7 separate regions of the Homo sapiens genome follow, and all the other regions are linked to region 1. The links are contacts of gene promoters, found by promoter capture Hi-C in blood cells and fetal thymus (Javierre and others, 2016). All regions are on one chromosome and are shown on one strand. Each heading gives the region's core, a stretch centred on a gene start or on the middle of the fragment in contact. The rest is flanking DNA. Distances are from core to core; before and after follow the strand shown. Region 1 holds the start of TIAL1 (TIA1 cytotoxic granule associated RNA binding protein like 1). Region 2 overlaps DENND10 (DENN domain containing 10). Region 3 overlaps GRK5 (G protein-coupled receptor kinase 5). Region 4 overlaps GRK5 (G protein-coupled receptor kinase 5). Region 5 overlaps GRK5 (G protein-coupled receptor kinase 5). Region 6 overlaps SEC23IP (SEC23 interacting protein). Region 7 overlaps GRK5 (G protein-coupled receptor kinase 5).

Evidence for each region. Contacts are between HindIII fragments. The CHiCAGO score rates a contact against its expected background, and 5 or more counts as called.
Region 2: a fragment that was not itself captured here is called in contact with the fragment with the promoter of TIAL1 in region 1 in 10 of 17 cell types (activated CD4 T cells, non-activated CD4 T cells, endothelial precursors and 7 more); the score reaches 13.4 in activated CD4 T cells.
Region 3: a contact is called between a fragment that was not itself captured here and the fragment with the promoter of TIAL1 in region 1, in 9 of 17 cell types (non-activated CD4 T cells, naive CD4 T cells, activated CD4 T cells and 6 more). The highest score is 19.7, in non-activated CD4 T cells.
Region 4: a contact is called between a fragment that was not itself captured here and the fragment with the promoter of TIAL1 in region 1, in 2 of 17 cell types (naive CD4 T cells and naive CD8 T cells). The highest score is 7.9, in naive CD4 T cells.
Region 5: a fragment that was not itself captured here is called in contact with the fragment with the promoter of TIAL1 in region 1 in 7 of 17 cell types (activated CD4 T cells, naive CD4 T cells, total CD8 T cells and 4 more); the score reaches 10.6 in activated CD4 T cells.
Region 6: a contact is called between a fragment that was not itself captured here and the fragment with the promoter of TIAL1 in region 1, in 1 of 17 cell types (total B cells). The highest score is 5.6, in total B cells.
Region 7: a contact is called between a fragment that was not itself captured here and the fragment with the promoter of TIAL1 in region 1, in 1 of 17 cell types (naive CD4 T cells). The highest score is 6.2, in naive CD4 T cells.

Annotation. Positions count from the first base shown.
Region 1 is chr10:119,595,149-119,599,068 of GRCh38, reverse strand. TIAL1 (TIA1 cytotoxic granule associated RNA binding protein like 1) reads left to right here and starts at 2,105. Exons shown (of 12, transcript NM_003252.4): 1 at 2,105-2,635. The coding sequence starts at 2,604. LOC105378512 (a long non-coding RNA gene) reads right to left here and starts at 3,505. Exons shown (of 2, transcript XR_946358.3): 1 at 3,077-3,505; 2 at 1-2,455. RefSeq lists enhancers at 893-982, 878-1,875, 1,873-2,462, 1,876-2,874 and silencers at 2,473-2,582, 2,993-3,092. The HindIII fragment of the contact is 6,118 bases long and covers 1-3,397 here.
Region 2 is chr10:119,113,028-119,116,947 of GRCh38, reverse strand. The region is part of intron 3 of DENND10 (DENN domain containing 10); the gene reads right to left. Among named protein-coding and RNA genes, the nearest start is that of DENND10, 11 kb to the right of the region's middle. The HindIII fragment of the contact is 2,453 bases long and covers 684-3,136 here.
Region 3 is chr10:119,214,369-119,218,288 of GRCh38, reverse strand. The region is part of intron 1 of GRK5 (G protein-coupled receptor kinase 5); the gene reads right to left. Among named protein-coding and RNA genes, the nearest start is that of GRK5-IT1, 7.9 kb to the right of the region's middle. The HindIII fragment of the contact is 8,317 bases long and covers 1-3,920 here.
Region 4 is chr10:119,232,424-119,236,343 of GRCh38, reverse strand. The region is part of intron 1 of GRK5 (G protein-coupled receptor kinase 5); the gene reads right to left. Among named protein-coding and RNA genes, the nearest start is that of GRK5-IT1, 26 kb to the right of the region's middle. RefSeq lists enhancers at 711-770, 3,733-3,920. The HindIII fragment of the contact is 9,362 bases long and covers 1-3,920 here.
Region 5 is chr10:119,263,474-119,267,393 of GRCh38, reverse strand. The region is part of intron 1 of GRK5 (G protein-coupled receptor kinase 5); the gene reads right to left. Among named protein-coding and RNA genes, the nearest start is that of GRK5-IT1, 57 kb to the right of the region's middle. The HindIII fragment of the contact is 6,203 bases long and covers 1-3,920 here.
Region 6 is chr10:119,920,275-119,924,194 of GRCh38, reverse strand. SEC23IP (SEC23 interacting protein) reads right to left here. Exons shown (of 19, transcript NM_007190.4): 12 at 3,211-3,306. Among named protein-coding and RNA genes, the nearest start is that of SEC23IP, 30 kb to the right of the region's middle. RefSeq lists an enhancer at 2,201-2,370. The HindIII fragment of the contact is 1,492 bases long and covers 1,161-2,652 here.
Region 7 is chr10:119,280,924-119,284,843 of GRCh38, reverse strand. All of the region lies in intron 1 of GRK5 (G protein-coupled receptor kinase 5), which reads right to left. Among named protein-coding and RNA genes, the nearest start is that of GRK5-AS1, 56 kb to the left of the region's middle. RefSeq lists an enhancer at 3,250-3,750. The HindIII fragment of the contact is 8,364 bases long and covers 1-3,920 here.

The DNA.
Region 1 (3,920 bases), core at 856-3,355:
ATTTTTAGGACTATGTACATGTGGAATAAAACCTTGTAGAAGGAAAGCAATAAATAGTAAAGACAGGATTCAGAAAGATGGTTACCCCAAGCGAAGGCAGGGGTGTGTGTTATTGTGTGTAGGAGGTATAGCATAGATACAGATATAAACTCGTGTCATTATAACTTTTTAGTGTGGTGGGTTTGTGGCTATAATCAAAACTAAAGTAATAAAGGTGGGTGCGGTAAACTGAATAATGGTCCACCAAAGATTTCTATGTCCTAATTCCCAGAATTTGGGAATGTTATGCTAAAAGGGACTTTGCAGATGTGATTAAGAATCTTGAGATAATCTTCGCCCAAAGTAATCACAAAAGGTTCTCGTAAATGAAAAGGGGTGGCAGGAGAATCACGATGTACGTACAGAGGCAGAGAAGAAAGAAGATACTATGCTTCTTTTCTTGAAGATGGAGGATGGGGCCAAGAGCCAAGGAATGCAGGCAGCCTCTAGAAGCTGGAAAAGGCAAGGAACCAGCCCTGCCGACACCTTGATTTTAGCCCAGTGTAACTGATTTTGGACTTCTGACTTCCAGAATTGTAAGAAAATAAATTCGTGTTGTTTTAAGTATCTAAATTTGCAGTAATTTGTTACAGCATCAACAGGAAACTATCACAGCGGGCCAGGCATGGGTTAATGAATTGGATTATAATTAAATCCAGTTCTACACCTAGGTCCAATTAAAAACATAGACAAAACCTTTGAGTGGCTCCTCACTGCCTGGAAGAGAAAGCTCAAATTCCTCAGCATGAAATAGATTCTTGACAACACGGTTCTACAAGGTCCTCTCTAGCTTTAGTTCCCTTCCCCCCGCTCCCGCCCGCATCCCCAGCCCATACATTTTAGCCATGGGTCCTGGCGTCTGAGCCTTTTGTTGTTCCTACGGACTCTTATGGGGCTCAACTCCTTTGCCGTGTCTCTATGAAGTCTTTCAGGTTGAAATTTCCTCCCCTGAAAATGGACAACATAAGGGCTTGCTGCATGGTTGATTCTGCTTTCAAGATTAATGTTCAGTGGCACGCATACGCACCGCCACTTGCAGAGGTCGACATGCACTTAGTACATGTCGGCAGAAGCAACTCTTAAGCCATTACTAACCGGGGCAGTTAAGTTCTGGCAATGGGCTGAAAGATCTTTCTTCATCGCCACTCTTCACTAAGCTACAAGACCAAGTACTTTCTCCTGAAGGTACTTAGAGGAGGAAAAAAGCACACCAGGAACTGTTGTGGGGGGTGAGAAGACAAATTCTACAGGGATGCAGAGCTAGTATGAACATGGCTTCCCCTATCTTCATGCAAAACTGCGTTTCTAGCCCACATGACTGATGTCTGTAAACGCAACTTTATGTTTGTGCACGTCTCTGCCCAAGGATTTTTTTTTCTTTTAACTCCAAGAATACGGGGGGAGTTGGGCAAGTCATTATAATAGGGCTCCTCTTCTTACCCCACTATCCGATGAGACATTTGATAGGGAAACCTCTGAAACTTGTAAAGCAATTTACAAGCAGGCCACCTACTTGTATTTAACAAATAGGCTAGAAATACCTATTTGTGGGAAATCGAGTCCCCAAAACACCCCAACCCCTCCGGGTCCCCGCCAGCACAGCCTCTCTTCTGACTGTCGCGCGAAGCGGCGGTTGACTAACGCGAGCCAGCCGTTCTGATGAACACAGGAGGGCCGGACGGCCCTGCTGGCTCGGACACCACGCGGAGGGAGAGTGCTGCCTGAGCCACAGTTGAAGAAACCGCTCTCGGGCTGGACGAAGGCGGAGCAGCAGCTCAGACTGGGCCAACAGAAGAGCCTTACAATGCCTGGAGCAGTCCGAGGACAGCCCCCGGCGCGAGGAACTCTGGGACTTGTAGTTCGCTTTCCCAGACAGCGCTTTTCCCCACTTGGTCTCCCCGCCTTTCAATGTCGCTTTTATTCTTCCCTTTACCTCCCAGCCCGCCGACTTCCTGGTCGTCGCACGTCCTCACGTATGACTACACTACCCAGAAGTCTCCTCTTCACGTCCCAGCGCGGGTGGGCGCCGGCGGCTCCTCTTAACCACAGGTTCCAGAAGTCCTCTGCAGAAGTGCTTCCCTCTCTCATTTCCAGGACCACAATTCCCAGAGACTTCGGCTTCACGACGTTTCTCTTTTTGCCCGATCTCTCCCGGAGCTGGCTGGGCTTCGGCCGGCCAGAGGCCCACAGCGACGACGTGATCCGTCGTGAGCGGGTCCCAGGGTTTCCTCGGCGGCCCTTTTTTCTCTCCCCTCGGTCGTCCCCCTTGCAGGCTGTCGCGGCTGGCCTGAGCGGTGACCTGGCGGGTCGCGCCTGCGCTCTGCCCTGTTTCCTGCCTGGCTGGTGGCGGCGGCCATTTTGTTCATCCTCCTCCTCCTCCTGCTCCTCCTGGTTGGAGCGCAGTGTCCGGAGCGGGCTGGGGGGAGAGAGCCCGAGAGCAGGGTTCGGTGCCTTTTCCTCTGTCCCCAGCCGGTGCCCAGAGCCCCCCTCCCCTTCCTCCCCACCCCCTCCCCTCCCCAACCCTGCCCTCCCCCTTGTCCCGGGATCGCTCCGTCGCACCCACCATGATGGAAGACGACGGGCAGCCCCGGACTCTGTGAGTACCCGAGACGAGGGGTGCCAGGCGCCAAGAGGCCCGGGCACCGCGGGACGCTAAGGGAGGGAGCAGGAGAGACTGGGCCGAAGCCGGGACTCTAGGCGGCTCCCTGACCAGGGCGGCGTGGACGCGAAGTGCATTCCTCATCTGTCCCCTTTTCCTTGGGAAGGAAATCCTCCCTTCCCCCAAACAGTCACTTCCTGGGGTCTGGGGCTTGTCTCGACCTTTTTCTCTGGCGTCCTTCTTTGCATGCCCTCCCTAGGCCGGGTTTCTGCACGGCTGAGGCTGTCAGGCCCAGGAGAACTCCTGCACCCCCTCCGCGTTGGACGCCCTGGGCTGGGCCTGGAGCTGCCGGCGCCCACGGGGGAAGGGCCTGGCGGGGGTAGGATTGGGGGTGGGCCCGGGGGTGGGCCCCGCGGGCCCTGAGGAATTAGCACTCACCCCTTCCACGTCCTCAGCTCGAGTCGCTCCCAGCTCTTCTCCCCAGCTAAGCTCTCGGAGGAAGCAGGACACTCTTTCACCACTCAAGCCCCTTCTCTCTTTATGCCCCACGTGCCCCCGCCCACGCTGTCAGAAACACCCGCCTAGCGCCCGCTACTTTTGAAGTACATAAGGGATACCTTTTGCTGCCCGAGCATCTTTCCCTTCTTGGATAAAGAAGTTTACTTTGAGCGCTCCCTACGCTAAACTGACAACCAGTTGTTAAACTCCTTTTGCTCTCTAGGTGTTGCCTCTTCCTAATCTGTTTGTGCGTCGAAAGCTTCAGAGTTGGCTAAAATTATGTCTTCATCCGCTATTTGATGTGTGTCTTCTGAACGCTTTTTCTCCTGTCTTGCTGTTGCTTTTTACCTGAAGCTCAATCTAATGAATGAATTCCATCTTCCAACCACTTAATTCTGGTTTCCTTCCTTTCCAATGAAGAGTGATGACTCAGCATTTGCATTCCTTTCTGAATAGTGTGGCACTCCTTTTCTCTGCATCTTTTTTTTTTTTTTTAAGTCTGAATACTTTTTAATTAAATGTTTAAATTGGGCACCCTAATTTCCCGGCCTCTCCAGGTCTAGCACTCCTACCTTGAGTACCAAGGAGTCAGATCGCTGCTTTGTTTCTCTTGCCTCTCCTGGTATTGATAGGATCATAGTCCACTTGGCTCTGCTCTCTGATGGGGAAATTGCTTTTTAGGGAATAGATGAAGGTGGAGGGGCACTCGAGAAGTTTGACTAGCTTCACATCTCTTCACTCCTACCAAAGAAAGGATGCTCAGTAAAGAAGATAGATGTTCAGT
Region 2 (3,920 bases), core at 661-3,160, 480 kb after region 1:
AGCACTTTGGGAGGGCAAAGCAGGCGAATCACCTGAGGTCAGAAGTTGGAGACCAGCCTGGCCAACATGGCAAAACCTCACCTCTACTAAAAATACCAAAAAAAAAAAAAAATTAGCCAGGTGTGGCAGTACATGCCTGTAATCCCAGCTACTCAGGAGGCTGAGGCAGGATTGTCGCTTGAACCAGGGAGGCAGAGGTTACAATGAGCCGAGATTGCACCACTGCATTCCAGCCTGGTCAACAGAGCAAGATTCTGTCTCAAAAAAAAAAAAAAAAAAAAAGAAAGAAAGAAAGAAAAGAAAAAGCTTGAGAGACCTTCAACAATTCTTTGGACTCAGCCATCTCCTTACATCTGGGAGCCCCTTGTTGTACTAAGGCAGGAGAATGAAGTACGAACTTCCTGAGGTCCCAGGATTCTCAAGAATGTTGTGCACTTATCCTGTGTCTTACATTCACAACTGGGGTTCTCAGTCATACAACTCTGTTTTATCACTGAGATTTCCTTTGACGAGAAAGGAGTTTTACGCACTGTTCACAGAGAAACCAGTAATTAGTTGTAGAACCCATACTTATTATTAAATGAGTTCCCAGAGGTAGCTATATTTAGATAATTAAGAAATCAAAACTCCTTTAGGTTTCTGGTGATAAATGCACATTAGACATTCATCGTCAAGTTAAAGCTTCTAGAAAATGCTGACAGGAAACTGGCTGCATTTATAGCTCACATGTGGAATCCGTCTCTTCCCCTTGAAATCTCTTCCTGTGAGCAACTAAAATTAAATTTTGCTTGAGAAACATGACTGGGTCTATTTGGGCCTTTCAGGAGCTGGTGGGATAGAAAATCGGGAAGAAAATAAAACATATTTAAGACAGATCACTTGAGGGCCGGGCACAGTGACTCATGCCTGTAATCACGGCACTTTGGGAGGCCAAGGTGGGCGGATCACTTGAGGCCAGGAGTTAGAGACCAGCCCGGGCAACACGGTGAAACGCTGTCTCTACTAAAAATATAAAAATTAGCTGGGCCTGGTGGCTCACACCTGTAATCCCAGCTACTTGGGAGGCTGAGGCAGAAGAATTGCTTGAACCCAGGAAGAGGAGGTTGCAGTGAGTCAAGATCACACCACTGCACTCCAGCCTGGGCAACAGAGCGAGATTCCGTCTCAAAAAAAAAAAAAAAAAGATCACTTGAAAATTATATTTATCATAGACTAAATGAAAAAAGCAAGTGTTTTAACTGCTTGCCAACTTTTGTCAATCATCAGTGTTTTTTTAAAAATTACCAATTCCAGCACTTTGGGAGGCCGAGGCGGGCGGATCACGAGGTCAGGAGATCGAGACCATCCCGGCTAAAACGGTGAAACCCCGTCTCTACTAAAAATACAAAAAAAATTAGCCGGGCGTAGTGGCGGGCGCCTGTCGTCCCAGCTACTTGGGAGGCTGAGGCAGGAGAATGGCGTGAACCCGGGAGGCGGAGCTTGCAGTGAGCCGAGATCCCGCCACTGCACTCCAGCCTGGGCGACAGAGCGAGACTCCGTCTCAAAAAAAAAAAAAAAAAAAAAAATTACCAATTCAATTCACAACTTGACGGAAAAAAAGTAGAGAACAATGAATGTGGTGAGCTTTCACACATGTAAAATACATTCAAACCCAGGAACTCACACACAGGCTCACACAGGGAGAAAAACTTCTCTGATAGGATATAAAGAAGGAGGTCACGGGAGTTGTGTGGGGTGGGGATCAGGAGGTAGAACTGGAGTCTGGGAACAGGAGGAGGCGGCAGCTCAGTTTTCACTGCATATTCTCCTGTGTTTCTAAATGTGCTTTATTACTACCAACAACAAAAAACCAAAATGCCATTAGCTTTCTAAAATAGAGGCCAAGCACTGTGGCTCATGCTTATAATCTCTACACTCTAGGAGGCCGAGGCAAGAGGCTCACTTTAGGCCAGGAGTTCCAGACAAGCCTGGTGAACATGGTGAAACCCCGTCTCTACTAAAAATATAAAAATTAGCCAGGTGTGGTGGTGTGCACCTGTAATTCCCACTACTTGGGAGGCTGCAGCACAAGAATCACTTAAACCCATGAGTTGGAGGTGGTAGTGAGCCGAGGTGGCGCCACTGCATTCCAGCCTGGGTGACAGAGTGAAACTCTATCTCAAAAAAAAAAAAATTATAAAATAGAAACAATACACAGTAATAGAGAAGAGAAACATAAGGTTGGTAGGATAAGATGACTTCCTACATGACAACCCTGGGCCAGGAGAGATAAAACAGAGGGGGAAATCCCCCCAAAACCACTCCACAGGAAAAGCCCACAGTGCGACCCCAAGCACCTTGTTCAGATAGACATCCATAGGCTGCCACACATCGAGGCCTGTACAGCTGACTGCAAGTGTGCATGAAACCCCGGTTCTCTAGCAGGGCCACTAGCAGCAAGCGACTAGAGGCTGAAGAGGACCACAGCAGTGAACCTGCAGCCACATAGGGAATGAGGTTCCCTCCTGCGGGCTTCTGCTGCCACTGTGAGCAGCAAGCTGTGTGTGGAAGGCACGCCTGCCTGCTCCTCACCAGAAATGGAGGGAGGCAACTCCATGTTAAACTGTCATGAAGAAAAGAAGTCTTTGCCTATGAGTGTGTGCATGTACACACAGACCTGTGTGTGTGTGTGTGTGTGTGTGTGCAAATACTTGGATGTGCATACATGCAAGAGTGAGCATAGTGCTGCATGAAGGGGCAGGAAGCAGAGGAGGCGGCTGGCAGTAGCTCCGAGTCCTCACTTCTCTTGCACTGTGACGGGAGAAGAAATCCAGGATACTACAATGCCACGCACTGCACAAGCTGAGAAACCCTCTGGGCCTCCTTCTGGGCAGGAAGTGGGGTCTGAAGCAACCTTGCCTTTTGGACTCCAGAATATTTCCCAGTGAATTCAGTTGAGCAACATAACCCTGACTCAACCAAATGAAATGGGAGTCCAATGTTTGTTCAAAAATACCTCTGTAGTGTTTTTAGTTTATGGCTTCTGGATAGCGTCTTTTCTGGCAATAATAATCTCCCTTTGTGTAAGTGCCACATTAGCAGACAACTGTTTATCCACAGTGAGACATTCACCTGGTTCTTATGAGAGTAGGAAGCTTTTTTATTCTGGCTGGTTGCAAAAATGGTGAAATCTCATTTAGCCAAGATATAATCTAACTGAAACCCTTAGGTAATGAGAAGATAGTCTTATGATAGAGTTTTTCTCTTTTTTTTTTTTTGCTTCTTTTGGTGTGTGTATATACATTCACGCACAAAAATAGCCAAAAGCCTACCATTTATTAGGCTTATAAAACAAAAACAATTCCCTTCACCCTCAGTGCCCCCAAAAATCTCTGTATTAGGGAAAAGCCTGACGGTAACATGACACCTAGAATTATAATTCTATCTAGTAACAACATTTTTTTTTTTAAAGGGCTAGGTGCAGTGGCTCACGTTTGTAATCTCAGCGCTTTGAAAAGCCAAGGCAGAGGATCACTTGACCCCAGGAGTTCAAGACCAGCCTGGGCAACATAGTAAGACCACCTTTCTACAAAATATATATATATTTTTTAATTAGCCAGGAGCAGTGGCACACACCTGTAGTCCTAACTACTTGGGAGGCTGAGGTGAGAGGACTGCTTCAGCCCAGGAGTTCAAGGTTACAGTGAGCTATGATCATGCCACTGCACTCCAAGCTAGGCAAAAGAGCAAGACCGTGTCGCTAAAAAAAAGACAACAACCAGAAAAAAAAAAAAAAAATCACGACTAAAACCCTGCAAGGCAGGGTGCGGTGGCTCACGCCTATAATCCCAGCACTTTGGGAGGCCAAGGCGGGCGGATCACTTGAGGTCAGGAGTTCAAGACCAGCCTGGCCAACATGACAAAACCCCCTCTCTACTAAA
Region 3 (3,920 bases), core at 851-3,350, 380 kb after region 1:
CACCTTCTCTGCAGGAGCAGATCAAAAGCATGGCTTCCTGTACCCTCATCATCAGGGAGCGACACCAGGCTGCCTTCCCACCAGGATCTCAAGTCTGACTGTGGACCCCCAAGGAAGTGCATGGCTCTTATACACTCCCTTGCCTCACAAAGCCCCCTGAAAAGCAGAGTTGCAACATTAACGCAACACACACACACACACACACACACACACAAACGGGTTGACATGGTTTCTAAATGCAAACACTCAAGGTTACCACTGAAAAATGGCAAGGGGTCATCCGGAGAGAGCTTTTCTGGGGGAAAAGGCCACTTCATACCCTCTCTTTGGTGAGGGGGTGGGGATGCCCTGCAATCTGCAAGAAAAACCCTCCTCGCCTCCCCCTCTCTAACCCCCTACTTGGGTAGTAAGTAAAGAGAGCTGCAGAAACCTGAGCCTGCACATAAGGTACCACTGTCAGGCAGAGGTAACTGAGGGCGAGAACCTCCTAAGGAGCAGTAAGCGGCCAGGGAAGCAGGGTGCAGGGCAGATGGGAGCTATGTGTGGTGAGCCAGCAGGAACTGGCATGCCCGCTGCCCACCTCTTGCCTCTGCCAAGGAAAGGAGGTGGTGCTGCTGCCAATGATGTGGCCCACACCTAAACTCCCATGACTGTCCCCACCACCACCACCCATGGGGCTTCACATCCAGTCCCTTGGGGGCAATTCGTTGGCCACTAGCCATGCTGAGGGGAAAAATAACGCAAGAGGCTGGCCTCGCTTGTCCGATGTGTTGGTAGGAGGGGCCCAGGCAGCGAGAGAGTACAGGTAATGGGCCTCCACAGGCGATCATACCACATACGTACACATGTGCTTATGTGTGTACAGGCACTTATGTATGGCATGTAGGCATCCTGCCTTGTCCTCAAACACAGATTCAGTTGTATTGATACACAGTTCTACTTTTAAAATGGAAACATCTACTTTGAGGATTCACCTATCAGTCATTTACAACCTAGTAGGAATTAATTTACCCAACTGCTCTCAAACTGGCCCTCAGCTGAAATCACGGTCTGAGACAGAAATTATATTCCCAATTTGCCCCTTTTCCCAGGGAATCTGACAAAGACACTCTTTCTCTTCCACAATTACAACCTCATGGGTATTTACACTTAAAAACCCTACCATCTCGAGAAGAGTTTGTTGTTTTGGCATATATTATGAGAGGAAGGAAGAAAGATTTATTTTGGAACATAAAAGCACTTTGGAGGATAGGGGAGATCCACTTGCAATTGCTCCCCAAAAGTCCACAGTTCAAGTGACCTTGAACAAGTGACTCCCTTTTTTTATTTTTATGTTTTTTTTTAAATTATTATTTTACCTTTTAGACGGAGTTTCGCTGTTACCCAGGCTGGAGTGCAGTGGCACTCCCAGGTTCAAACAATTCTCCTGCCTCAGTCTCCCAAGTAGCTGGGATTATTATAGGCACCCACCACCACATCCAGGTAATTTTGTATTTTTAGTAGAGATGGGTTTTCACCACGGTGGTCAGGCTGATCTTGAACTCCTGACCGCAAGTGATCCACACACCTTGGCCTCCCAAAGTGCTGGGATTACAGGCGTGAGCCACCACGCCTGGCCATTTTTATTTATTTTTTATTTTTTGTAGAGATAGGGGTCTTGCTATGCTGCCCACGCTGGTCTTGAACTCCTGGCCTCAAGCAATCCTCCTGCCTCAGCCTCCCAAAATGCTGGGATTACAGGCGTGAGCCACTGCACCCGGCCCTGACTCCCTTTCTTTCATCTCAGTTTCCCCATCCGTTAAACCAAGGGTAACCTCTATGCCGGAAACAGAGGACAGGGCAGCAGATCAGCTGAGAAGGCTCAGGGAAGCCGAGGCACCAGTGGCCCTGTGGCCTCTGCCACTTCAGGACAGAGGCATGTTCTTATCTGTTTATCTCAGCTTATCTGTTTACCCTTGCTTTCTGCACAGGCCCCAGAAGCTGTCCTTGGGGTTCATTTCATCATTACCTTTTTAAAAAAATTTTTGATATTCCACAGATTACAAGTTCTTAGAAACACAGTAGGCCCTATCAAAACTGGCCTAGTTTAGGAGGATGTCACCAGTTGACTCTGGTACGTCAGATAGACTCCCTTGCTTCGGACACCAGGGAACAAGCAATGAACTGTTTTATTGTTTCAAACACTTTCTTTCTAAGTGTGCTCTGAGTTATTGTTAAAATGTTTCAAATCTCACAAGAAACAGTTTTTAAGGAGAAAACCATTTTCAAGTGGATACAAGAACAGTGAGTTTCTTTGGCATCTTTAAGTATACCTTCTTCCTGATGTCTTCCCAGCTCAGAAAAAATGAAAACCCTTAAAATGGTTTTGCCTGTCTTCACCCCCATTTTAGATCACCTGCCTGTGGAGGTTTCTTTCTATTCTTTCTGTAGATCTGCCGCACTTATGCAACTTAATTGTTTTTTTAAATAAAATGACTGCTTTAAAATAGCCCCACATTAAGAATTTCAAGAAGGAACATGGGGCTCTGTATGTATCTATATCATGCACTTAATTTGAATCAGGAAAGTCAGTTGCTCAATTTAGGCAAATTTCCCAACAAGATATTGAAAAAGGGGGTGGGGGAGGATATGGTAGCTTAACCCCCTCCACCCCCGCCACCATCCATGATTGTCCCTGACCTGAATTTCCTCTTAGGTGAGTCAGTCCCAACTCCCAACCCCTGCCTTCACCCCTCCTCCATGGTGCAGCCCCCTCCCCTTCCTCAGTCTCTTCCTCACTCTCCGCACCCCCTTCCCTATTTTCTCCTTCTCCTACCCATTTCCCCCTCTCATCTCTCCTTCTCCCCCTCCTCCACACTGTCTCTCTCCCCAACTCCCTGCCTCCCTCTGCTTCTTTTAATTTTCCCTAATTTTTCATGTCAGAAGTCATGGGGTTATCACACTCACTAAATGCACAGAATCCTCTAGAGAAGCTCTGTCCCGATGAGCTTTCTGCAATGATGGGAATGTTCTATATGCATGGCCCAATACAATGGCCACTAGCCACACATGGCTACTGAGCACTAGACATGTGGTTTGCATGCTTCAGGAACATAATTCCTAACTTTAATTAATTTAAGTATAAATAACAACATACAGCTAGTGGCTACTACGTTGAACAGAGCCCCTGAAGAGGAACAGGTACCTTTAATCTTTTCGGTCATTCCCTGTGACAGGCTATGTCAAAGGACATACCCAGGCCAATCCCAACAGAAAGCCAGAAAAGAATGCAGCCTCCACCGTCTTCACTCCAGAACTGCAGCCCGTCTACCCGCCCAGGCCTCTGCCCTGAACACCTGCTCTGCCTGGAAGGCGCCATGGCACACCAGTTTTCCTCTTGGATCTTGTCATTCCTCAACCAAAGGGTCTTCTTGCCATTGTTTTTAATGGTTTCCATTTCTAGGAACAGACCTTCATAAAAACAGTGTTGGCCGGGCGTGGTGGCTCACACCTGTAGTCCCAACATTTTGGGAGGCCAAGGTGGATGGATTGCTTGAGCCCAGGAGTTTAGAGACCAACCTGGGCAACAGGGCGAAACCCCATCTCTACAAAAAATACAAAAATTAGCCAGGCATGTTGGCACGAGCCTATAGTCCCAGCTACTCAGGAGGCTGAGGTGGGAGGATCACTTGAGCCCAGGAGGTCGAAGTTGCAGTGAGCTGAGATGGCACCACTGCACTACAGACTGGGTGACAGCAAGACCCTGTCTCAAAAAACAAAACAAAACAAAAACCCCTCAGTGCCCCAGAAAATTAGCAGTTGTCTTCCAGATTCAGGTCTATCCCTCAAGTATAACCTTTTAATTATGCTTAAATCACATACTGGTCCCTCAGGCCATTGTCCAAATTCTAGGCACAGTAGAGTCAATGCAGTCTACACAG
Region 4 (3,920 bases), core at 692-3,191, 360 kb after region 1:
CTCGGGAGGCTGAGGCAGGAGAATGGCGTGAACCCGGGAGGCGGAGCTTGCAGTGAGCCGAGATCGCGCCACTGCACTCCAGCCTGGGAGAGACAGCGAGACTCCGTCTCAAAAAAAAGAAAAAAAAAATAGTGTGTAGGTCAGTTTGCAACCTCTGGGCTAGACAATAAGAACTCCTGACCTCAGGTGATCAGCCTGCCTCGGCCTCCCAAAGTGCTGAGATTACAGGACAATAAGGAGCCCACTGCAACCTGGGCCCTGGCACTATTTGGCACCGTTAATATCTGCACAAGAGAACACAGTCCAGCAGCAGCAGCCACGGTCTAAGGGATGGGGGACAGCCAGGCATGGGAATGGGTATATGGCCCAAGAGAGGCTCCACCCAGGGGTTCGGGCCCCTGAACCATCTGGAACTTGGCTGTAAACCTCCATTAGCCTTTGGTTACCTGCCAGCCCCTCAGGAATCTCCTGGGGCAGAATCCAGGTGCTCCTAAAGTCACCATTTACACAAAGTACTTATTGAGCACCTATTGTCTACAGACATACACAAAAAGAGCAATAAAAAGACACAGGCCCTGTTCCCATGAAACTGATGGGCTGTCAGTCCCCAAGTCCACCTTATTTCTCAAGTAAATCCTAAATATAACACATTTTCAAAAAGGAAAAAAAAACTGTCAGAAATTACTCAAACAGATGTCCCTGTACCTTCACGTTCAAATGATTCATGCTTTTTGTTATTGAGCCAATTCATGAGCTTCATGGAGTCTGAACAACCCGAGTGTGCCTTGTAAGGGGCCCTCAATGAAAAAACAACTGGTCCCAGACTCCCACTCTGCAGCACTTGGGACACAGCCAGCCAGCCCACAAACAGCAGTGCATTTGCTTTTCTCTTCACCGAGGAACTCATTTACATAGACTTGATGGTGTGATTTTGTTTCTAAACCTGGCTCTTTTGCTTTAACATTTTCCAATTACTTACATGCTAGTGAGTTCCAGGATATGGTTTTCCAGGGATAATAGGCAAATCAAGTTGCTATTATTCTCTGTCCACCTTGTTCCCCCTCCTGATTTGTTTCCCTAGTATAAATCTACACATGAAGAACATCACCACTGATGAAAGCCAGATTTAGAAATTACACTTATCCCAGCCTGGGCAACATGGTGAAACCGTCTCTACAAAAATAAAAAAAATAAAAAAAAATTAGCCAGTCCTGGTGGTGTGCACCTCTAGTCCCAGCTACTCAGAAGGCTGAGGTGGGAGGATCACCCAAGCCTGGGAAGGCAGAGGTTGCAGTGAGCTGAGATGGTGTCACTGCACTCCAGCCTGGGCAACAGAGTGAGACTCCATCTCAAAAAAATTAATTAATTAGGCCGGGCGTGGTAGCTCATGTCTGTAATCTCAGCACTTTGGGAGGCCGAGGCAGGCTGATCACCTGAGGTCAGGAGTTCGAGACCAGCCTGGCTAACATGGTGAAATGCTGTCTCTACTAAAAATACAAGGCGTGCACCTATAATCCCAGGTATTCGGGAGGCTGAGGCAGGACAATCACTTGAACCCAGGAGGCAGAGGTTGCAGTGAGCCGAGATCGTGCCACTGCACTCCAGCCTGGGTGACAGAGCAAGACTCTGTCTCAAAAAATAATAAGAAAAGAAAAGAAGAAAGAAAAGAAAAGAAAAAAGGGGAGGGAGAAAAGAAAAGAATAGAAAAGAAAAGGAGGGGAGGGGAAGGAGAAAAGAAAAGAAAAAATTACAGTTATCACCCATTCTTGGCTTCCAAATTAAATTTAAGACACATTATCATTTCAAATCCACCTGAAAAAAGTAACCCCCAAATGTACTTTTGCCTCCTACTGACGGTGGAACTTGGGCAAGATTCCTAAGTCTTCTGTGCCTCAGCTTCCTCGTTTATAAGATGGAATTAACCAGTTGTACTTGCCTCATAGGTTTGTGGCAGAATTGAAATAAGACATGTAGAGTAAGAATGAACTACTTTTAGTAATATTTTTTGTCAACACCAACGTGAGGAACGTGGTGGTTAAAAAAGCACAGACTCAACGGGCTGGGTTCAAACCCTGGCTCTTCCATCAACAACTGTGACCTTGGGAAAGTTTAGGAACCTCCCTGAGCTTCTGTTTTCTCATCTGTGGAATTAAGATAAAAATAATATTTACCTCCGAGGGAGGCTGTAAGGAGGTTCTGACATGCATAAGCAGTGTATTAGGTTTACAGCTATTTTGGTGATGATGAAACCAAGGCTAATGGGAGGTGGCACCCAGCCCTAGAGCAGCTGGCTATATCATACGTTCACAGATATGCCCAGGCCCCCACAAGGAAATAGATGGGGGATCAAACCAACATGTGTGTGGACAGAATCCACTTCCGGACTCACACAGCTATTGTTCCTAACACCTTGGGTTCACATTTCCATGGTGACTGGGATGTTTGTTTCCTAATCTTTCTTTGCTACAGTTGGAGTCTCACAAGGGCAGCCAGGTTAAGGATTGTATTCTTTGTGGCAAATATCAAATACACCTGGCCCTCTGCTCAAGCAAAGCCTGGGACAAAGGTGCACATCCAGCCTTCCTTGACTCAGGGGGCTGGCTCCTCCTGACCCAGGCCCCATGTCTCTGGCCTGCTGTCTTGGGTTCTTTAAGGCAGGTATCCCCTAAGGATGTGACTTTTAACCCTGAATGAGTCAGGATCCTTTGACTGTAAGTGGCAAGTCACACGTTCACCCAAACAGGAAACCAGGGGGGTACATCTGGCCCCCAGAATGGCTGGACACCAAAATGAAACAATGCAATGAGGACTCTCTCTCTCTCCCCCACCCCATCAGCCTTTGATTCAACATCGTGCTATGCCGCCTTTATTCTCAGATAGGCTGTGGCAACGGCCACCAAGAGCTCCAAGTTTCCCTCCACCAGCTTGGCAACCCCAGCAGCAGAAGAGCAGCCCTTTTGGAACCAAGAATCCCATCCCCATCCCTGAGGCCAAGCAGAGAATCAAGGCTCTGCACAGCCAGGGCTGAGTCATGTGCTCACTGATGGAACCAATGAGACATCATCTCCACCCAACCTTGTGGATTAAATACAGGGAGGAGTGGTCCCCCAAGAAAAATGGAGGTGCTGTTGCCAGAAGAAGAGGGGGTAGATGTGGGCCAGAAAAACAACAGACACCGTCTGCTCCCACATTTCTTCAAAGCTACTGCCAGGTGCTTGCCTCTGGCATGGAGGAGCCCTTCACCCTCCAAGACTTCACACTGGCCATTTGGCCACTGAGGGAGGCCCAGACCAAGCTGACACCTTTCCCCAGAGCCAGCCACATCTCCTGACTGCCCTGCAGCATCACCTGGGTGCAAATATTATAGTTTTTTATCTTTTAGCTGACACATAACTACGTATTTATGGGGTACATGGTGATGTTGCAATTCATATGATGTACAGTGATCAGATCAGGGTAATTAGCATATCTGTCATCTCAAATGTTTATCATTTATTTGTGCTAGTGTATTAGTCTCTTTTCACACTGCTGATAAAGACATACCCAGGACTGGGCAATTTACAAAAGAAAGAGGTTTCATTGGACTTTCAGTTTCACATGGCTGGGGAAGCCTCATAATCATGGTGGGAGACAAGTAGGAGCAAGTCACGTCTTACATGGATGGCAGCAGGCAAAGAGAGCTTGTGCAGGGAAACTCCCCTTTATAATAACCATCAGATCTTGTGAGACTTACTATCACGAGAACAGCATGGAAAAGACCTGCCCCCCATGATTCAATTACCTCCCACGGGCCCCTCCCACAACACGTGGGAATTCAAGATGAGATGTGGGTGGGAACACAGCCAAACCATATCAGTTAGGAACATTCAATATCCTCCTTCTAGCTATTTGAAACTACATATTAGTGTTAACTACAGTCA
Region 5 (3,920 bases), core at 1,008-3,507, 330 kb after region 1:
ACAACAAAACACAGCTAGGCACGGTGGCTCACACCTGTAATCCCACACTTTGGGAGGCCAAGGTGGGAAGATCGCTTAAAGCAGGGAGTTTGAGACCAGCCTGGGCAACACAGGCAGACCCTGTCACTGCAAAAAGAATTTTTTTTTTTTGAGACAGAGTTTCGCTCTTGTTGCCCAGGCTGGAGTGCAATGGTGTGATCTCGGCTCGCTGCAACCTCCGCCTCGCAGGTTCAAGCAATTCTCCTTCCTCAGCATCCTGAGTAGCTGAGATTACAGGCGCCCGCCACCATGCCTGGCTAATTTTTGTATTTTTAGTAGAGATGGGGTTTCTCCATGTTGGTCAGGCTGGTTAGAACTCCCGACCTCAGGTGATCCGCGCACCTCGGCCTCCCAAAGTGCTGGGATTACAGGCATGAGTCACCGCTCCCAGCCCTACAAAAATAATTTTTTAATTAACTGGGCATGGTGGCACACGCCTGCAGTGCTAGCTACTCAGGAGGCTGAGGCAGAAGAATCACTTGAGCCCAGGAGTTCAAGGCTGCAGTGGGCTGTGATCACAGCACTGCACTCCAGCCTGGGCAACAGAGCAAGACCCTGTCTCCATAAAAAAAAAAAAAAAACTCTTCCCCCCCACCCACCCAACCCCAGCAAATGGCCAAATCCAAGCCTAGTGGGAAATCAGCAGAAGCAATAAGAAAAAGCAGTGAAAGCCTCCTTGACTCCATGAAGAATCCACCTTCCCCGCTTCCTCCTCCAGCCACAGGATTAGACAGCGGGTTCCCTTGGCCAGCCCCACCGGCTTCACTACTTAAACTTCCTCACCCTTGAAAACACCCAAGTTATGAAGGGAAGGAAAAGCCCATTGGAAGGTAGCTGGGTGTTTGGGAAGGGCTCTTCTTGATAACAACCAGCATCATTTCTTTTTTTTTTTGAGACGGAGTCTAGCTCTGTTGCCCAGGCTGGAGTGCAGCGGCGCCATCTCGGCTCACTGCTCACTGCAACCTCCACCTCCTGGGTTCAAGCGTTCTCCCGTCTCAGCCTCCCGAGTAGCTGGGATTACAAGCATGAGCACCATCATGCCTGGCTAATGCTTGTGTTTTTATAGATACTGGGTTTCACCATGTTGGCCAGGCTGGTCTCGAACTCCTGACCTCAGGTGATCTGCCCACCTCGGCCTCCCAAAGTGCTGCGATTACAGGTGTGAGCCTTCGCGCCCATCCAGCCAGCATCGTTCCTAAAATAGGTAAAGAAATCAGACTGCACAGTCCAGGCCTGCAGCTTCCTCCAGTAAACTCCCCAAGACAATGGGCACAACCTCAGGACAGCCTTCTGGGGGAGGCCACAGATGCCCTCTGTCTCCTGGTAGCCTTAGGTTCAGCTGAAGGGATGGGGGTCCTCAGAGAACCTCTCTGTTAGTGGGGCCCAAAGAGGGAACCGAGGCAGCTCAGTCCATGACAGCAGGACCCAACGCAGATCCCAGGGCCCGGACTTCAGCCCCAGGCAGGGACCCACTCCTGAGCAGCCATAGAGGTCTCCTGGCATTGAGTGCGGCTGAGAGGGCGTGTGGCCAGTGGTTCTGGACAAGAACCTGCAGGGCCCAGGGTTTCCCTGGAGGCTCCAAAATGCCTGGAAATATGCATACGCCCTTCCAGAGGAGGACTACTTGCTTTTAGTACAGTGGAGCCCAGGCACTCACTCCAATGGAGGTTGAGAACTCCGACTGTACTGATCAGCTCAGGCTGCCATAGACTGGGTGGCTGAAACAGCAGGAATTCATTGCCCGTGAGTCTAAAAGTTAGGAAGTCCAATATCTAGGTGCTGGCCCATTTGGTTCCTCAGTGCAGGCCACCTTCTTACTGCGTCCTCATGTGGTAGAGAGAGCGAGCTCTGGTCTCTCTTCTTCTTCTTCTAAAGGCACTAATCCCATCATGGAGGCCCCATCCTCATGACCTCATCTTAACCGACTCACCTCCCAGAGGCCCCACCTCACACTGGGGGTTAGGGCTTCAACAAATGAATTGTGTGGGCACAAAAACATTAGGCCCATAGCACCAACTTTAGGTCAACATCCTTGATCTGCCACTCACCTGCGGGGGGGCCTCAGCAAAGGCTTTCTCTACCCTGAGCCTCAGTTTCCCCATCTGTAAAAGAGGCTGGTAATACCTGACTCAGAAAGGAATTAACAAGATAAAAACTAACGAACAGAAAGCAAGGAGGACAGAGTCCAGCACCTGAGCAGGCCCCCAAAATTAAAGGCTGGTGGGGAGCACTTTGAGATAACAAACATGAACTTGATTCATGTGGGAAGGCTGCTGGGTTCCTGGCAATACAGGTTAAGATGAGGCAAGGCTGCTGCCTGTCCAAAGAGGCCGCTGTGAGCCCCAACCAGCTCAGCACGGAGTAACACAAAAGAATGAAAGCTGTCTCTGAGTCGGCCTTCCCAACAGGACACTGAGCTCCCAGGGACAGGTCTGTGCCTTGCTCTATGGACCTTAGTTTTCTGAACAAATGATTCTCATTGGTCAGATGACAGTGAGGCACGTCATGCCAAGGCTACTCAGGGCACCCTGGCCAGGAGGAAAAGGGAGTGGGCAGGGCATGTAGTGGGTAAGTGTGGTTTTAGTCCACCCAGGGTCCCTCCCACTGCTGAAGAATAGTCCTACCCCACTTACAATGCCAGGCTGCTGATCAGGGCCCTGCTACCCACACAGGACTCAGATCTCACGAAGCACAGAACGTGAACCCCTGTCCATGACGATCAATTTCAGATGTGTACACAAAACCCAAGCCCCGATGAGAATCATGCCTTGATGATGTTTGACATACAGCTGCTGGGAGAGGTGGTCTTTCTTGCTGAGGGATAGCTAACTTTAAGGACACACAGCCACTGGCCATCTTTATCGTCATGGGGAGAAGGATGAGCGGTAGTAGGAGAGAGAGGCCAACACTCAGAAAGCAGCAGAGCCAAGAGCTGTAGGAAGCAGGAGGCAGGAAACAGAGAAGGACAAACACCAGATGGTAGGACTTGAGCCCCACCCAGGACTCAACTTCCCAAGCACATGTGCCAACAAATGCCCTGGAGGTTTTTGTTTATTTGTTTTGCTTAAGCTAGTTGGAGTTGAGCTTCTGTCACCTGTAATGGAAAGAGATCTGCCTAATGACAGTCACCTTGCTGGAACTGAGCAGAACCAGGCTGCAAAATTACACAGAAACAAGTTGCAAATGTCAATGGAGAGCATTCAAGGTGGCATGCAAGCACGTGGCTCATTTTGATAACAAATATAGACTCTCTTGAGGAGCATCACATTTGAGAAAAGTCATGCTGAGAACCTCTCTCCAATCTGCCTCCTGCCTGCCATCTGTCTTCTCTTGCAGAATGTGTGTCAGGGAAAAGGAAAAGACCCACAATTAGTTATCAACAAGGTTTTATTTTTTTATTTTGTTTTATTATTATTATTATTATTTTGAGACGGAGTCTTGCTCTGTCACCCAGGCTGGAGTGCAGTGGCACGATCTCAGCTCACTGCAAGCTCTCCCTCCTGGGTTCATGCCATTCTCCTCCCTCAGTCTCCTGAGTAGCTGGGACTATACAGGCGCCCGCCACCACGCCCGGCTAATTTTTTTGTATTTTTTAAGTAGAGATGGGGTTTCACCATGTTAGCCAGTACGGTCTCGATCTTCTGACATCGTGATCAGCCCATCTCAGCTTCCCAAAGTGCTGGGATTACAGGCATGAGCCACTGCGCCTGGCCTCAACTAGGTTTTAATACTTGGAGGAGAGGGGAAGAGAAGAGAGGAGAGAAAAAGCTGAGAACATGATTGAAAAGAGACTTAACTTCTTCCTTGTCCAAGGACACTGAGACATTTAACTCAGAAAAGCCAAAGAATCATCCATCCCTGTTTGCCAAGCTGATGGGCCT
Region 6 (3,920 bases), core at 657-3,156, 330 kb before region 1:
AAAGTAAGTAACTGGTTAATTGAAAAGGCAATCTATAAAAAAGAAAACTCTTAGCCAGCTTGTAACTGTTTCCACCGTTAATGTTTTAGAAGGCTTGGTTATCTCTGCCCTTCGGAGGCAACACAAAATTAAGCCTAAAATCCGAAATAAGGAACATTTTCAGGGTTCCTCACTTTAAATCTGCTTTCTCACTCAGAAGTACCTCCTGTTAAATTCATAAAACATTCTAAATTGCTGAGAGCTGTCTAAGGAGATCAGAAACTGTCCTGTTGCCAAGAGTTGCTTTGTTAAATTTGCAATACTTTTTAAACTGTGAACCAACAGTGTTTAAAAGTGAACCAACATAGGCTGGGCGTGGTGGCTCACTCCTGTAATCCCAGCACTTTGGGAGGGCAAGGCAGGTGGATCACCTGAGGTCAGGAGATTGAGACCAGCCTGACCAACATGGTGAAACCCCATCTCTACTAAAAATACAAAAATTAGCTGGGTGTGGTGGCAGACGCCTATAATCCCAGCTAGTTGGGAGGCTGAAGCAGGAGAATGGCTTGAACCTGGGAGGCAGAGGTTGCAGTGAGCCGAGATCGTGCCACTGCACTCCAGCCTGGGAGACAAAGCAAGACTCCCTTTCAAAAAAAAAAAAACGGAACCAACATATACATACTTGACTATCAATATCCCCAACACTAGAAACAATTCCTTTTCAAATGAAAATTACTAAGATGCTTTAAAAAGAAAAAAAAAGCACACAGTCACAAATATCACAAATATTTGATCTCCTTGTTATAAAATAATCGCTAATTTTGGTCCCATTATTTCAGTTACAGTAAATCAACAGGACACACCATATTACTTTTGTATTGATCTAGTAGCACCTTGTTATCTGTAAGAAGTGTAAAGCAATCAATGGCAACTCAGCTGAGAAAGTTTCATGGTTCATCCAAAGGCAATTACCTTTTAATTTAAAAAATAAGATCACTCTATAGATTTTTGCTCATTTCAAAACATTCTTATAATGCCATAATTTATATATCTAAGCAACTGCAGTCCATAAACCAGTCTCCTTCTAGAAATTCTTCAAGAACTATAGAATCCTTTTCTACTTTTTTCCCTTTCATTACAGAATAAATTAAGAACATGGTGTAGGGCCTGAACACAAAGCTTCTCATTTCTTGTTTTTTTTGTTTTTTTTTTTATAGGCTTTTGCTTCACTGATGTATACACGGAGACAAGCATTTTTCTGTATGGAGCACGCAGCCTGTATACAGAAACAACACTGACATGCTTGTGTCCTAGTCTCAGTTTGACTATTGTGCTCATCAGAGACAAAAGCCTGGGGATCTACTCACAGGGTTGTTGTGAGGCTCAGGTGAGATGAAAAGCTCTTTGTAAATTGGAATTACAGAACGATTCAACACACAAGAAAAATGACATGAAAGATACCTCTTAACTGCCAAAACTAATAACCTTTCTCAGCACTTAATCAAATACTGCTTGTCTATGTCTAAAATGTCTTTTGAGTTGCTCCCTTCCTCTCCACCTCCTACCTTATACCCCTATCATCTCTCTTTCAGTCACTGTACAATTACAATTACTACTATGTAAGATTGCAGCCGCCTCCACTTCACGCCTTTCCAACTTCATCTGTGCACTGTGACCAAGCAAACTCTCCACAGTCCAAAAGTTAAAATTAAAATTTAGACTACACAGATGATTTGGTGCTAAATCATAACTTGTGATAGAATAAGCAGGTCAGCATTTTGTAATGTTTAAAAACACCATGACTTTCATGGCCATAAGAACATGTTTGAAAACCACTCCCTTACAAGAGAAAATCCAAGCCTCCACACCTGCCACCTGGGCCTTTGGAACCCTCTGCCCTTCCCAGTTTCCAGCTTCCCTGATGCTACAGGAAAACACATGCCAGATTCCAGAAGGCCATCTCCCCTGACCTTACCCCTCCTTCAAGCTCAAGCACCATCACCTTGGAGAAGTCTTCTCTCACCAACCCCATGCTTGTCTCAACAAGCCAGAACTGCCACCTCTCATCTGCCTCAGGACAGCACACACAGCACGCTATTATGGGGCTGGTATGTTGTCATTTGAGCTCAACGTGCTCCCCGCAACTAGACAGCACACTCTTGGTTAATCTCCGGCTCCCAAGAATTGAACACAGTGCCTGACTCAAAAGAGGTAGCTGCTATTCAATAAAATGCTGAGAAGACTCAATTCCTTAAGCTAACCATTAAAAAAAAAATCAGTCCTATGACTTTATAGTCATTTCCCATATAAAGAAATGATGTAGGTTAAGTTCCAAACAGGTAGTAAAATAATAGAACCATAGAAATTCAAAAGATGGAAGGATCATCAAAGAGCATGTTAATAACAATACAAATAAGACGGCCACCCTAAGAGTCATCTAATTTTTCTAATTAGAAAACCTCTGTAAAATTAATTTGATCAATAAATTAAAATTAATAAAACAAGTATATTTTCCAGTTGTTCTAGTTTTAAATGCTTTTTAGCTGTTGCCTTGTTTTGTATTGTTAACAATTTTTGCTGTTTAGTGTTTAAGACTTCAGTGTGTATGTTTTTCCTCATCTCTTTAGATGGTAAGGACTGGGAAGAAAGTGAGCTATTACTTGGTGCTAAGCTTTGCATGCATTATTTCATGCTTACTCCAATCCTGTAAGGAAGGTATTATTCCATTTTAGAAATGAAGAAAACAAAGGATCAGAAAAATTAAGAAAATCACTCATGATCAGAAGGCTGAGGCGGGAGGATAGCTTGAGCCCAGGAGTTTGAGACCAGCAGTGGGAAACACAGCAAGATCCCATCTCAAAATAAACAAATGAATAAAACCAAATACAAATTGCTCATTAATACGCAGTTAATGAGCAGTTGAGCTGAGAATTTATTTGTCAGAACTTAACCACTGTTTGCACCAGGAAAACCTTAAATATCCATTTTAAAACTGAAAGCCCTTCATCCTAGGAACTTAGTCCCAGGAAAACCAGGATGGTCACTTAGCCTAATGTGGACTTAAGCCCAACTCTGACTCCTAAGTCTGGGTTTCCATCAGCTCCATTACTGTGCCCTAGGTAGGGAGCAAACTAGCTTACCTAACCATAGTAGTATTAAAATTTTCTATAATATAAACGAGCTGGTCACACCATGAGTTTTAGTTTTTCTTGAGTCAGAGGTGAACTTTACCAGTTTGGCTGCTTTATGTTCTACAAAGTTAGCTATCTTCTTTCTGGGTCCAAGGGGTATCCCCATTTCCTTCAGGTCATCAACTGTACACATAAGCTTTAAAAGGAAACAGACAAGCACATTAATCAATCTAGTGATAGAAGAACTGAAATGAGAATATGAAAATTATAAAGAAACCACATCATCTAAAGCAATCTAAGAGCCACTCAACTTTTTACAAGTTAGTTATTTTGTATTTAAATCATGCATCAGTTTAGGCTATAAAATCTTAGGCTTCCACACCTAAATCATTCTATTAATTAACAGAAAATACACATATGGTATACAAAATTCCAAAGCTATAGTCAAGCATACGATGAAATATCTTCCTCCCACTGCTGTCCCAAACATAGAATTCTCCTCTCAGCGCAACTGTGGAAACTTGCTCTCTTTGAAGCGATGTCTTATGTATGCATAGCACTTACATGTTTTTCTCTGTGTGTGTGCTCTACTATGCACACAGTAATGAACTCTGCTCTCTTCATGTAAATGTACCTTAGAGACGGGTATCTCTGACACTGCATCATTCATTCAACAGCTGTAGGGTACTCCGTTATGCGGATGCACCATAAATGATTTCACTAGCACCCTACTCCTCAACACCAATGGTGTCTCTAATGTTTTGTTACCTTGCAAACACTGCTGTGAGTATCCTTGTAGATAATTCTTGT
Region 7 (3,920 bases), core at 914-3,413, 310 kb after region 1:
ACATCCCTTTGCCAGGACGGCAGCCTTGCATCCAGCACTCACACTTGGGAGAGACACGTGGTGTCACTGGCAGCCCAGTACACAGGCTCAGGCCTGACCCTCCACCTCTGTCTGTTAGGCCCTTTCATCACCTCCTCATGCTTCCCACACCTCCAAATGGCTAACAACTCCCAATATTCACCCACTGACGACTGAGAGGCCACAGCAGCCTGTTCTGCGCCAAAGCCCCTGGACACAGAAGCTGAGGAGCACTTGAGATGTGGCTGGTGGGAGTTCAGAGGTGCTCTGAGGTAAGATAAACTGGATTGTAACTGCTTAGCATAGAAAAAGGAATGTAAAATATCTTGTTAATAATTTTCATATTGATGGTGTACTAAAATGATCATTTGTACATATCGGATTAAATAGCCGGGCTCAGTGGCTCACATTTGTAATCCCAGCACTTTGGGAGGTCAAGGTGAGAGAACTGTTTGAGACCAGCCCAGGCAACATTTCTACAAAAAAGAAAAGGATTTTTATATTAATGATATACTAAAATGATAACCATTTGCAGATACTGGATTAAATAAAATATATTATTAAAATATTATTAAAATAATATCAGTTGTTCCTCTTTTACTTTTCTAAAGGTGGCTACTAGAATTTTTTCTACTTCATAAGAGGCTCACGTTTATTTCCACTGGACAGCGCTGGCCTAGACAGTGGCTCTGACATACACCATCTGGGCCCAAACCTCAGCTTCCTTGACTGGTTGTTTGATGTTGGGCAGGTTTCATTTCCTACCTGTACCCAGCTTCCTCCTCATCTGCCCACAGGGGATCCGAGTACCGAAGTACACTGCCCAGAGCTGGGGAGGAATCAATGAGATCAGACAGATGTGCAGTTACCACAGTTCCTGGCTCTCGATCCATGTTGGCTGCTCTTGCTCATTCAACAGATACTTTCTATCTCCCTATGACATGCCAGGCTCTGGGGACACAAAGATGAACCTTGAAACATTCTCTTGCCAGAGTTATCCCCAATTTAGGCTTTGAAGGGCCAGGCTCACGTCTCAGCTTTGCTACTACCTATGTGACCTTGAGCAAGCCACATTTTGGGGAGTGGGGCTCATGGTCCCATCTGCAGGGTGACCCTTGATGACTCTGGGATCTCAGGGAAGCCATCAGCATTAGAAAGCAGAAGAAGGCAATGTTCCCAGAGGGCAGGTGTCTGAGCTAGCTCCACCCCAAGGCCTAGCCTCCAAGGGTACTTGCATTTTTGCCAGAGACACCATCAGCACTGGCCAGGGAATACAGAGCCCGGGCACGGGCAGGCGTTCCTGAAGCCTGGAACTCAAGGCCTCAGGAACGTGTATGTCTCACTCCTTCCCTGCAGCCTCACTCCTATGTCCTCATTTCCCAGCCTAGAAGAAGGACTTGCAGGGCTTGGAGGGGTGCAGGTTAGGGGACGAGGTGGGAATGGGGTGTGGATTCATTTTCACAGAAGCCTCAAAGTCAAATACTTCATCTCATCTCCAAATGTGACCATGTTGAGCTGCAGGGCTGGAGGACACTCCCGTCCCATCACAGGTCCACCCAGACTGAGCACACTATGAATTAATATTTCCTATAAATCCTAGCATTACCTTGTGACTAGACTAATTATATTGCTATGTTGTTTTTGGTTTAAAAAAAAAACACCATCCTGACAAAGGTTACCAGTTTAAAATACCATAATATTAATATTTATAGCTTTCTTAGGGCATTTTAATTGTTTTAATGAACTGGAAGCCTCAAAACAAAACCAAAAAACTGAAAGCAGGCCAGGCCCCTTATCAGCTCTGAAAGGCCCTGAGATGTGCCCCAACTCTGCAGCAGGACCAGGCCCCAGTGACACAGTAACTCAGGGCCTAGAGGAGGGACTGGATGGGCCAGCAGCCTGGAGAACTCCACAGCATCAACTGGGCGACTGTCACTCCTCCGGCCTCACCTAGTCCTGCTTTCTCACAAGGCCTCACCTTTAAGACAAGACATTCATGTTGGGCAGGAGAAAGCGCTCAAGAGCTTCTAGAAGCCTCCCGGAAGCCTCTGGGGCCCCCGCCAACCCTGGACTCTCCTGACAACTCCTGGGATCTCACCTCCACTCCAGGTAGTTCTGTGCCCAGCTGCTGACCACCAGAGCAGGAAGCTGTCACAGACCACCGGGGCCAACCCTTCAGGCTCTGGGGAGAAACCTGGACCCACAGGGGGCCTTGATCCATCTGCTCGATAGTCCATCTGCCCATGAGCCCATCCAGGGCCGCAGCACACGCCTCTCCTGCCCCAGCCGGAACCCGACCCTGGTCTAGGAGCTGAGGACACAGCAGTGCAGACACATCAGGTTGGTGAGGGAGACAGACAAGGAAAACAGACTGTTACAAGACAGCCTGGTGAGACGGGCTGCCAAGGAAAGGGGGAAAACTAGCAGGGGGAACAGCAGCACTGGGGCCAGAGAAGTGTCTCCCATCCCAGCAAGAGACAGCTCTGCTGCAGTCTGGAGCTCCAGGAGGAACTGGCCTGGTGAAGACCTGGGAGAATGGTCCAGGCTCAGAGAAAGGTTTGTGCAAATCTAGACTGTGAAAGAGACAGCCCAGTGCTCACTCACGATACTAAAGTAATTTAGGGCCCCAAAATGTGAGTGGGGGGAGGAGCAAGTGAAGTCAGTGGTTTGGAGAGTGCAGCTTGGGTCCGAACTCAAGGAAGAGGTGCTGTGTGAAAAGGCAAATCACAGCAGGGCACACTGGCATGGGGAGATCACACAGAAAGCGACAGTGGCCAGCAGAGCAAGAGACGCAGACCAAGGAGGGGAGGGCAAGGGACAGATGCCCAGGAGGGAGGTCACCAATGGCAATGAGAAACAGGATAGGCTCAACAGATGTCTCCAGGATTTCTGCTTGGGTGACAGGCCACTCAGGCTGTTGTCTGTGCAATGAGATCACGTCTTAGAAATAAGAGATTTAGTCTTTACCGAATCCATCTACAAAGCTAAGTAGCAGCCTGGTTCTCCATCACTGGTTCACAGCAGGGACATTCAGCCAGCTTCTCAGCCACCTCGGGGGATCGGATGACTTGATGGCCTGGCTCGGGGATGGCAGTGCTCAAGGGCACGCTTCCAAATGGGCAGGGGCCCAAGAGAAGAGGCGGCCAACCACCACCCCGGGAACCCAGGGCAACCTGCCAGCTTCAAAGGCTCAGCCGTGCTAAGACCCGAGGTCGGCCAGATCCCTCCCTGTGAAGAAGATGCCACCACAGGAGAGGCTGATTACAGAACAGTGGCTCAAATACAGGCTGTGTGGTCACAAGCATCCGCATACAAGCACCAGGGGTGAGCCGTGCACAGACATGGCCAAAATGAACGAGCCATCACCACTTCTGGGTGCTCGACACCTAATGGGAGCTCAAGAGCAGGGGAGAGGAACAGGAGAGCTCGGGGCAGAGACTGCCAACCCAGGGTAGTTAGTAAAGTAGGGTTAGGGGGGTCCCTGGCCAGACCCACAAGAACTGCTTTGGGAGCAGCCGGGAGGAGCAATTTTTTCCCAAGGAGGCAGTGAAGGCAGCATGTGCAGAGTCCCTGAGAGGAAGGTGAAGAGGTGTCCATGTGAGCAGAATGACCCAGCCCAAGCATGGAGGCAGCACATGGTGGCAAATCCATCTAGATGGAGAAGATCCTTGTGCTGGGGACAGAGTGAGAAAAGTCCTGAAAGCAATGGGCCGGCCCTGAGGCTTTACCCTGCAGAAAACGGGAAATCAGATGGGCGTGGTGGTTCATGCCTGTAATCCCAGTACTTTGGGAGGCCAAGGCGTGTGGATCATGAGGTCAGCAGTCTGAGACCAGCCTGACTAAAATGATGAAACCCCGTCTCTACTAAAAATACAAAAATTAGCTGGGCGTGGTGGCGCACG